2 separate regions of the Homo sapiens genome follow, and region 1 is linked to region 2. Evidence: promoter capture Hi-C in 16 types of primary human blood cells and fetal thymus (Javierre and others, 2016). All regions are on one chromosome and are shown on one strand. Each heading gives the region's core, a stretch centred on a gene start or on the middle of the fragment in contact. The rest is flanking DNA. Distances are from core to core; before and after follow the strand shown.

The links. Contacts are between HindIII fragments. The CHiCAGO score rates a contact against its expected background, and 5 or more counts as called.
Region 1: the fragment with the promoter of C10orf90 here is called in contact with the fragment with the promoter of FANK1-AS1 in region 2 in 16 of 17 cell types (erythroblasts, total B cells, endothelial precursors and 13 more); the score reaches 19.5 in erythroblasts.

The regions. Positions count from the first base shown.
Region 1 is chr10:126,668,013-126,673,509 of GRCh38, forward strand. It overlaps C10orf90 (chromosome 10 open reading frame 90), which reads right to left and starts at 2,681. Exons shown (of 10, transcript NM_001350921.2): 1 at 2,229-2,681. The coding sequence starts at 2,468. RefSeq lists a silencer at 4,707-4,929. The HindIII fragment of the contact is 6,507 bases long and covers 1-3,772 here.
Region 2 is chr10:125,970,754-125,976,597 of GRCh38, forward strand. It overlaps FANK1-AS1 (FANK1 antisense RNA 1), which reads right to left and starts at 2,520. Exons shown (of 4, transcript NR_102707.1): 1 at 2,501-2,520; 2 at 2,209-2,371; 3 at 1,984-2,092; 4 at 1,435-1,588. The region is part of intron 1 of FANK1 (fibronectin type III and ankyrin repeat domains 1); the gene reads left to right. The HindIII fragment of the contact is 7,061 bases long and covers 1-5,328 here.

The DNA of each region.
Region 1 (5,497 bases), core at 1,431-3,930, 700 kb after region 2:
GGTATGCGTGTGGCTGGATCATCCCTGGGCTGCAGTTCAGCTGGTGAGAGGTGGCTTCTCCAACCATTAAGACAGCTCAGGACTAAGACCATGGTTTTGGAAAAATTTGAGTCTGTAGGTTTTACACTAAAATCAAGCAGATTTGCAGGACCTCATGGGAAGAACTTGAAATCCATAAGGTTTTTACAGAAATAAAATCTCCAAAACTCACTTTTGCCAGATAACCAGCCAGTTTCTTTAATCTAGCACCTTTGTGCATTGAGAGTTCATCCCAGAGACCCTGCTCATTTGTCAGCCCATTGAGTACTTTGTGGTCAAAGCCCAGGGCAGGTTAACCAATGGCCTTGGAGCTGATAGAAGAGAAGGAGTCACTGGGCCAAGTCCAAAGGCAGAACCCAGAAGTGCTAATTGGGGTCTCTCAGCAGTTCAGCTTGGGAAATTGAGCAAGGAAGTTTCCTTCTTCCTAAATTTCCTAATCTAAATAATGCTGAGATGTCATGGTAGGAATAACATGAAGAATAGTTTAATGGATGAGGAATATTTTAAAATCGGAAATGTTTGCTACCAAAAGTCAAGAGCAGACCTTGAAGTTCAGAGGGACAGGGGGTGCAAATCCCATCTGATGGTTTTCAAACTTGGCCCGCCCTAGAGCTGAGGAGGCAGGCCCTTCCTGGACAACTTGGGGAGTCATGGACACAGTGAGGCCCATCCAGCCCATCAGACTGATTGTGGGTGGGGGCTTGGATCTGGCATTCATTTTAACATTAGTGGCTCGGTTGTTGGCTGTCAATAGTAGCAGCGTATTGGGCCCTGAAAAAAATGTAGCTGTGACTGTCATATATTTGAAGTTTTTTGTAACCTCCTAAAAAGGTGTACTTTTTTCATATTGTTTTAATCAGTGTGGCTATAGGAATCAGTGAAGTTTTATATACGAAGAAAACGAGAATGCCAGATCTACCATTTGCTACATAGGGTTTAAAATGAAGCTATGAACAATGCATAATAATGTAATTCAACAAGTTTTTCTCTCTCTGGAGGACTGGAAAATAACCTCAGTGAAAATTATGCAATGATAAAATTCTGTCCCCATCTGATTAATTACTTGTGAATAATGACATCTCTGATTTCTTTCAATTATATTCTAATTGCACACCTTTTGCTCCAGTTGATTGGGCAATGAAGTAATGAACAACTATTACTGAATTTAATTAGCACCATTATTTCTGTGGCCTTTACATCTCTGTTGTGAACATGGAAATTCACACTCCCAGGGCTGGAACTGGAAGAAGCCAGCCTTGAACCTTGAAAAACCTGTTCCTTCCACACTGTGCTGGCTTCCTTCTGCCCAGCCTGGGGAACAAAGACCTGGCGTATTTGCCAGTATTCATGGGAAGGCTTTCCTAATAACAGCATCAATATTCAGAAAGGTTACCTTTTCATAAGGCATTAGCAATTTGCATGTTACATCTATCAAAAGAGATGGGTAAATGAGCTATATGGGAGTCAATTACAATGTCGTTCATAATTTATTCCATGTACAATAAACAGCCGATCAGATTTCATGCGTGTTTACTTTCTGAAAAGATAACTGCTTGTGGCTGATACTAGTTGCAGAATACAAATATGTTTCAGAGTAATGTGTTTATCTCACTTTGACATTTTAAATCTCCAAAGTTCTCTCACTCTCTGTCTTTTTTTTTTTTTTTACAAAGTTGTCTCTGCTTGAAAATTAGAGCTTGCTCTCAAAAATAAAAGATCATTCTTACTGGCCTAACTTGAATCATTCTATTTTAACTCGATGAAGGCACGTCATACATATTCTCCTACAAAACGCAACAGGAAACAAGTAGGAATTTGCTTTTAAAGACAGGTGATTGCAAACATACAGAGCTAAGAATATTTAACTCACAGAAACATGCTGTAGTTTCTAAACATGGATACAAATTACCCAACTCAGTAGTCTTTGGAGCACCAATAAAGTTTGTAAATGCAGACATGTGTCATCGTAAATTAACTTCATCCGATATACTTTCCCCCTCCCCCATATTTCAAAAACTAAAATAAATTCAGAAATGAAGAAGGCTTTTCCAAATCCCTTAGGGAAGTCTACAAACACAAATGATTAATTTATTAGACCAGATAAAACACCTGAACTGTCTGATGAGCAACACGTCCATCTCTCTCTGAGTCAAGCGTGTACCCACTCACCCACCCAGGCTCAGCCATACCTCATATCTGCTGGCTGTCTGCTCAGCCGTCTTCAAGCCTTGACACATATGGATGATACAAACTTTGGCTCTTCTCTGGGAGGGAAACCAGTTACTCTTCACAAAATCCATGACCATCACATGGTTTTTCAACTCTGTACTAAATGTTTTTATCTGGAAAGTCCGATGCACGGCCGTTTCTGTGTAGCGGGCAGCATACCCCTGCGGATGAGTTTTTGTAGGAATTCCAGAGTGCTGCATGAGACTCAGTATCTTGTGACTTTAGCTAGTGAGACTGGCAAACACAATTTTCTTTGTTTAACCCAGGTATTGAGTGCAACAGGAGGGACTTGGGCAGTGCCCCAGCTCGGACCTGTCCCAGTGTTTTCCAACTCCAGAGCTAGTTGTCTCAATATCCCAGCTACATTTGTGAAGGATGTGGATGTGGGAACCTCAGGGGTGACCTTTACGTGCCAAAAAAAAAAAAAAAAAAAAAAAAACTTCTTGTTGTGGTCTGTTTCCAGCCTCACGCCTGAGCTCTCGGGTCACTCAAAGTCTTCTCTGATTTCAAAGAAGTATTTCTCTTTCCACTGCATTGAAGTTTTGAACACAGAATTCACCCAGTTACTGAGAGATTCAATATGTTTGTCAGTCTCTACCCCCTCAAATCCAAATAAATTATTTACAGGGCTCTGTACAAAGGAACTAGGAGGAATAATCGTTGCTTTTTAGAATTCCTGCTTTTACTTGCCAGGACTGAAAGGAACAAGTGCAGGCTGCCTACCAATACAAAGAGCGTCCTCAGCCCTGGAGAAGAAAACATTCAAGTGAAAAAGAGAACTCCCAGCGCAGAAGCAGCAACAGCTGCAAGAGGGCATCGGAAAAACAGCGCATCACGTGGGGGCTGGGGGTGGAGTCCACTCGCCTAGAAGGGGGCTCTGGTCCTGGGTCAACCATGGGAAGTTCCCTCACCACCCTGAGTCTCAGTTTACCAGGAGGAAGACTGGAAGGAAAATACCCCATCTGCCACTCACAGGGTTATTGTTAGGATCTGGTGAGCAAAACAGTGAAACAACAACACAGAATAGAGTCACGTTAGGCATCATTTTGAAAGTACAGTTGCGCGTTCTCTACCCAAATTATTTTGCACAGTGTTCGCTACACATATGATAACGGAGATTAACACAATGCTAATAATTATCAGATTCTAAATTTCAAGTCAATTAGAATTGCAGATCCATGGTATATGCCTCACTTTATTTAATGTTTTGATGCCATTTCTATTAACCTAGTAATTTAGAAGTGAAAATGGCAAGCCTTGGATCAAGGGTGTGTGCCAAGAGGAAGCAGATGACAGCATCGTGGCTGTGCTCCAAGTCCAGACACAGAACTCTTCTCCACAGGTGACTTTCTCTTGGCAGAGACACCCCCTTGAATAATTAACTCACCTGCCCCACATTGAAAGCCATGGGAGAGGCTAAAGGAAGAAGAGCCTCCAGATAACTTTCCTGAAAACAGAGCTGCAGTCCTAGCCCAGAACTGTGAGACTTCCTGCTGTGGGTCGAAGCTTTGCATGTCACACTCAGCAGGGCTAGGACTTGGGGGCTAAAATGCTGAACTTCCACCTTCGGAGCAATGGAAGTATTGAAGATGGGAACTACAATGAAGGAGGAGACAGAAAAGACTTTAGAGATCATTTAGGCCAACATTCTCATTTGAGTGTTAAAGTAGAAGACCTACAGAGACTAAATGCTGGCTCAAGATCACACAGTGAAGTGGAGTTCATGGTTCCTTAAACAGAACACAGCCCGGGTCTGCCTGGGGCTCTCCCAAGGATGTCAAAGAGAGTGTCAACACCCAACTGATGGCATCCATGGCTGACTCAAACCTGACAGTCATGCTGGAAACTCCCAGGGAGCTACACCATGGAGCGCCATCTTGGATTTGGAAGCAATGTGATAAAGAAAGCCATGGGAGACATTTGAGCAATAAAAACATGAAAATTGAACAGGGACACCAAGGAAAGAGGGGATCTGCTTCATGTTTGGGCACAGGGAAGGTCATTCCCTGTGTCCCCAAAAACGCCATTTAAACCAGCTCCCATTTGTGTCTATCTGCTCCTGTCCAGGAGACCCCGCAAGGCAGATAACAAATAATAAAGTCTTTTCTTCCACCACTACACACATTAAAGGACCTTGGACAATGCTGAGGCCAGCAGGACTGGTCATCAGCTACCCCGAGACCAGGACTGGTCATCAGCTACCCCGAGACCAGGACTGGTCATCAGCTACCCCGAGACCAGGACTGGTCATCAGCTACCCCGAGACCAGGACTGGTCATCAGCTACCCCGAGACCAGGACTGGTCATCAGCTACCCCGAGACCAGGACTGGTCATCAGCTACCCCGAGACCAGGACTGGTCATCAGCTACCCCGAGACCAGGACTGGTCATCAGCTACCCCGAGACCAGGACTGGTCATCAGCTACCCCGAGACCAGGACTGGTCATCAGCTACCCCGAGACCAGGACTGGTCATCAGCTACCCCGAGACCAGGACTGGTCATCAGCTACCCCGAGAACAGGACTGGTCATCAGCTACCCCGAGACCAGGACTGGTCATCAGCTACCCCGAGACCAGGACTGGTCATCAGCTACCCCGAGACCAGGACTGGTCATCAGCTACTCCGAGACCAGCATGGAGAGGTTTGCTGATGGTTGGCTGACTGCTAGTGTGAGCACTTGTCACAAGCACAGCCAGCCTGTGGTGATTATGGAGATTCCAAAGATCATTAAGGCTATGGGTGAGTTTTCTCTCTCCCTTGACCACAGCTGGTGGCTGGATCTTAACTGGCCAGTATGGCCAACAAGAGGAAGCAGTAATGTGGCCTTAGGCAGGTCTCTGGGATTCTTGGTCAATAGGGATGGACAGAAGACTTGGGATTGTCAGATTGAATTCCTCATTATATGGAGGAGAAAATTGAGGCCCAGAGGGAGAGAACCTTGACTGAGAGGTCCAAGGGCTGGAAAGAGCACTGGATGGACAATTGGAGATGGGTTTGCACCTAGGCCCTAAGACAAACTAGCAGGTGATTGTGGACAAGACTCCTCCCTTCTGGCTTAAGTTCCCTTTAACCACAAGCCCCCTAGCTTCTCTGACACCCCTGGGTTCTAGAGTGTGTCAATTTTGACCATGTGCAGACACAGCTCAGCAGAGAGCAGTTCCACCCTCCCTGGGAAAGGCCTTCCTGTCTGGGTCACTGAGGTGGGGCTGGGTGCAGAAGAATGAGCTG
Region 2 (5,844 bases), core at 1,270-3,769:
GATCGCGGCAGTACAGTCCAGCCTCGGCAACAGAGGGGGACCGTGGAAAGTGAGAGATGGAGACGAGGGAGAGGGGAAGACCGTGGAAAGCAGGAGACGGGAGAGGGAGAGGGAGAGCTTGAGCTTGAATTTTTCAAAATGTTGATTTTTGTCACCTTAGGAAAGATGTGTTACTTGTTATACATCCAGCATGGTTAAGTCCTAGTGTCAAGTGAGCCAGGACTATAGTCACAGATATACTTACCTCTCCTTGCAACTTTAGCTGTATTATAAAACTTGGGGGTGATAACATTTACAAATAGACTTGTTCATGTATTAGTAGTAAATTCAGAGTACTTTTCCACTGTGATATGTGCTTTCTGCCCTAAGTATATACAATCTTTTCAGATTTATCTATGAGCTATCTTGCTAATTGTTTCACCCACATTCTATAGCCTTTCCCTCCTGTTGATGCAACTCTTCCTCTTCCAGATTTCATGCTGAACCTAATGCAGCATTTGACTGGCTTCCTACCCATTCCCATAGTGTCTGCAAGTAAACATCAGTCAAACTCTCTGCCTTCTTGGTCTCCACTACTGGTTGCTATGGGCTTTCTATACCATCTTTCCTTTCCTGGACTGGGCTCCTGAAGGTCAGCAGCCTCCCTGACCTCGGTGCTATAATAAGTTGCCTTCTCTTCTGCTTGCACACAACATCTCTCTACTTTATTCAAACAATTACCTGGTTTGCATTGTCTCACTTTTTCTGACCAAGTTTTCTTGATCATTTAAAAATTTCCTTGGGGTTCAAGCCAGTTCACAAGCTAGACCTGATTTAAAATGAATAATTTAAGGAAATCTGGAGAACGAACTAATAGTAGATTTTTCACCCTGGTCTACATTTTTCTGAGACGGAGTCTCGCTCCGTCGCCCAGGCTGGAGTGCGGTGGCATGATCTTGGCTCACTGCAAACTCCGCCTCCTGGGTTCACGCCATTCTCCTGCCTCAGCCTCCTGAGTAGCTGGGACTACAGGTGCCCGCTACCACGGCCGGCTAATTTTTTTGTATTTTTAGTAGAGACAGGGTTTCACCATGTTAGCCAGGATGGTCTCGATCTCGTGACTTTGTGATTCGTCCACCTTGGCCTCCGAAAGTAAAGTGCTGGGATTACAGGTGTGAGCCACTGCGCCCGGCCGCTCCGGTCTACATTTTATATCTCTACTCTTAAGAGGCAGTATGGTACAAGGTTAAAAGTAAGGGACTTCTGAGCCAGATTATCTTCATTTTAATCCTGGTTCTACCAGTTATTTCTGTGTGACCTTGGGCAAGTTATGTAACTTCTCTGTGCCTCAGATTGTTTATAAGGGAGATAATAAAAATCCTTACAGCATATAGAGTTGGTGAAGTTAAATGTGGTGAAAGTTAAATGAATAAATAAAGCATCCACACTAGTACATGACCCAAATTAAGTGTCATATAAGTGTTGCCGCATTGCAGTTCTCCTCAGTGACGGCCTGTGACCTGCCATTTCTGTCGGCTCTTACCAAGGCTCGGTGCCGCCCCGGGCCTCTGCTCCATTGTCATAGTAATGTTTGCACTCTGCTAGTCACCTGTAAATATACATATTTAGGATCCTAAAACCAATATCCTAAAATATGTATATTAGCAGATGATGACAAAAACACCAGAATTTTTATCAAAGAGAAAGTAGAAAGTATATGGGTTAATATTGTAAGGATTAGGATACACCTGTCAAATTACTCTAGGTTGGCTTAGAAACAAAGCAAAACAAATTGGGTCCCATCCACTATTTTTTGGCATTCTGAAAATAACTAGCTCTTACCTGATGAGGTCATTCATTCATGACCTGACCATCCAGGTCCTATCTGGCAATAATAGCTTTTTGCAAAAAGCAACTCTTGCCTAAGTGGAGATTTACATCTTGATGAGTTTTGTATGAAAGTAAAGAAGATGCAGGAACATTATCAGTGGGGCGTACACTAACCATTGGCATTTCTGAGCAACGTGTTGCGTAGTTGTGTGATTTGGCAGCAGCTGGTCCATTGCTGACACGTGTGTGTGTTCACTGAGGCTTCACTCACACCTAAGGCTTCCTTGGAGAGACCATGCTGCCATTACATTTGGATCACTACCTGCCCCCAACACACACACACACACACACACACACACACACACACACACGAACCAACTTTCCAAGCACCACACCCACCTTTTCCGGGCTCTGTACCAGATCTGGAGGGGTGATGGCTAGAAGTGAGGGTTTTTGCTCCATCATGAGTAGCAGCTGGAAGTGGGCCTGTGCCCAGCTCTGGTGGCAGTGGGCCACCTGTGGCTGGTGCCAAGCTCACTGATGGAGATCTCTCATTATGTACCTACATCAATGATCAGTAAAGAACAAGCCATAAGAAACTTTTGGGTCTCTGGGAATGTTATCTTTTTACTCCTCATATAACTTCATGGTGAACTGTTTTGAAATTTGACATTAATTTAGAATTTCTTGCCTGTTCTGATCTCTAGTAGGATTCTAGGCTGGATGTCTTTGGAATTGAAATACTTGTTGGCTTCTGGTTATTTTGGGGGTAATCCATAACAGTCTACCATTCCTGGTGTTTGGTTTTAGTGGGCTGTGAAAAAAATCATTTGTTCAACACTGATGTCGTGATACAAGGACGTGAAGATGTGAGTCATTGTGACATCACCAGCCAGAATTGCTGGGATTCAGTGAGATGACTCACAGTAAGAGGTCAGTGTCTGGTTCAGTAGTTCCTTCTTCCACATGTATCCCTCAGTATCTAGAACCCTGAAATTGGTTTCTCTAAGAAAACCAAGAGGCCCATAAGGGTAATGTATACTGTTGATTTTTATGGTTATTTTTCAAAAACTAATATTTTAAACATATCAAAATTATTTCAAATGGTAATGTACTCAATGTACCATTTGGTTTAAGATGTTAACATTTTGCCATATATGTCATAAAGTCTTTTCATGAAGAAATCAAACCTTACAAATATACTGGTAAGACCCCCCTCCTGCCCATCATGCCCCCATCCCTTCCGTTATGTTGTTGAGGTGGTGTATGTTCTTCCCTTCAGCTTTTTAACTTTTACTACATATCTGTGCATTCATAAATAACATGTAGTGTTTTTTGCGTGTTATGTAGTGTGTCCTTTTGCAACCCATGTTTTCCACCCATCCATTTTGAATTGATCTATGTTGATGCAGGTGTATACAAAACTCATACAGCTAATTTCTTTTAGTTGTTGTATAGGATTTTACTGTAGGAAATATGCCATCATTTATTTAGATACTTTGTAACTTAATTATCACAAAACACTTTGTGGTATTTTTAACTCAGTTTCAGAGAACATATTCAAACCTAGGTTTATCCAATTCCATCATGCTTTCTATAAACATTTGGAAAATAAAGTTGGGAAAGTGAGCTTGCAGGCTGCCTCCTAGCATATCTCTGGGGTCTTCGTGTAAGGGAAATTGTTGGCTGTGTGCCCCACTGGCCTGGGGTGGCAAGACCAGGGCAGCCCTGTCTTCGTCAGTGGGTCTGCACTGCAGGAAGACCCCTGGGTCTTCAGAGGGTGCTGGTCAGCTACTTGGGACATTGGCTCAAGGGAAATACAAGATCCTTTTTTTTTAAATGAACAATGCAGTAAATCTGTGATATATTTGAGGCTCAAGAAGGATTGAGTTACAGGGAGAAGTTTCAAAGGAAGTGTAAGACATGGACCCAGCCTGTAAGAAACTTAAAGTGTAGCAGGGGAGACAAAACTAACATAGAACAATTGCATGCTACACAGCTTGGTATACACTCTACTGCACCCCTTGTTACCTTTGGCAAAAATGAGATATTCTGTGTTTTTCTTTGCACCTTGATTTCTCACCCAACAATACTTAGTGGAGGTCCTTTCAAAGCACCTAGTATAGAACAAATTCATTTTTCAAAGGGTGTATAATGTTCCACTTTATGGACATAGAATAACTTATTTGTCCAGTCTCTTATAAATGGGTCATCTTTTGTTTTGTTTTGTTGTAAACTGCTGAAAACTGTAGTAATGTCCTATGTGTCTTTGTGTGTATCTATTTTTATTTTTTTAATTTTTATTTTAGGTTTGGGGGTACGTGTGAAGGTTTGTCACACAGATAAATATGAGTCACAGGAGTTTGTTGTACATAGTATTACATCACCCAGGTAATACGCTCAATACCCAATAGTTACCTTTTCTGCTCCTCTCACCCTCCCGCTTCAGGTAGACCCCAGGGTCTGTTGTTTCCTTCTTTGTGTTCCTAAGTTCTTCTCATTTAGCTTCCTCTTATAAAAGAGAACATGCGGTATTTGATTTTGTGTTCCTGCATTAGATTGCTAAAGATGATAGCCTCCAGTTCCATCCATGTTCCCGCACAAGACCTGATCTCTTTCTTTTTTATGGCTGCATAATATTTCATAGTGTATATGTACCACATTTTCTTTATCCAGTCTGTCATTGATGGACATTTAGGTTGATTCCATGTCTTTGCTATTATGAACAGTCCTGCAGTGAACATTCACATGCATGTGTGTTTATGGTAGAATGGTTTATATTCCTCTGGGTATATACCCAGTAATGGGATTCCTGGGTCAAATAGCAGTTCTGGTTTTAGCTCTTTGTGGAATTGCCATACTGCTTTCCACAATCGTTGAACAAATTTATCCCACCAACAGTGTATAAAGGTTCCCTTTGTGACCTTGCCAGCATCTATTATTTTTTTGGCTTTTTAATAATGGCCATTCTGACTGGTGTGAGATGGCCTCTCTTTGTGGTTTTGATATGCTTGTTGGCCACATGTATGTCTTCTTTTGAGAAGTGTCTGTTTATGTCTTTTGCTCAATTTTTAATGGGGTTGTTTATTTTTCTCTTGTAAATGTGTTTAAGTTCTTTATGGATGCTGGATATTAGACCTTTGTCAGATACATAGTTTGCAAATATTTTCTCCCATTCTGTGCCTTTTAAGTGGGGCATTTAGCCTGTTTACATTCAAGGTTAGTATTGATATGTGTGGATTTGATCCTGACATTGTGCTGTTTGATCATATCATTGATCCTGTCAGCTGGTGCTGTCACTGATCCTGTCATTAGCTGGTTATTATGTTGGCTTGTTTGTGTGGTTGCTTTACAGTGACACTAGTCTGTGTGTTTAAGTGTATTTTTGTATCAGCTGGTAGCGGTCTTTCCTTTCTATATTTACTGTTCCTTCCAAGATCTCTTATAAGGCAGGTCTGGTAATGAAGTTCCTCAACATTTGCTTACCTGAAAAGGATCTTGTTTCTCCTTCACTTAGGAAGCTTAGTTTGGCAGGATATGAAATTATTGGTTGAAGATTTTTTTTTTTTTTTTAAAGAATGTTGAATATAGGCCTCTAATCTCTTCTGGCTTGTAGGGTTTCACTGTTAGCCTAAGGGGATCCCTTTGTAAGTGACCTGCCCTTTCTCTCTAGCTGCCTTTAACATTCTTTCATTTCAACGTTGGAAAACCTGACAATTATGTGTCTTGAAGATGATCTTCTTGTGTAGAATCTTGCAGGAGTTCCCTGTATTTCCTGAGTTTGACTGTAGGTCCCTCTAGTAAGGTTAGGGAAGTTTTCAGGGATGATATCTAGGAATATATTTTCCAAGTTGTTTGCTTTCTCTCTCCCTTTCAGGGATGCCAGTGATTTGTAGATTTGGCCTCTTTACATAATCCATTCTTCTCTGAGGTTTTATTCATTTTTATTTATTTTTTCATTTTTGTCTGACTGTCCTATTTCAGAGAACCAGTCTTCAAGTTCTGAGATTCTTTCCTCAGTTAGGTTTATTCAGC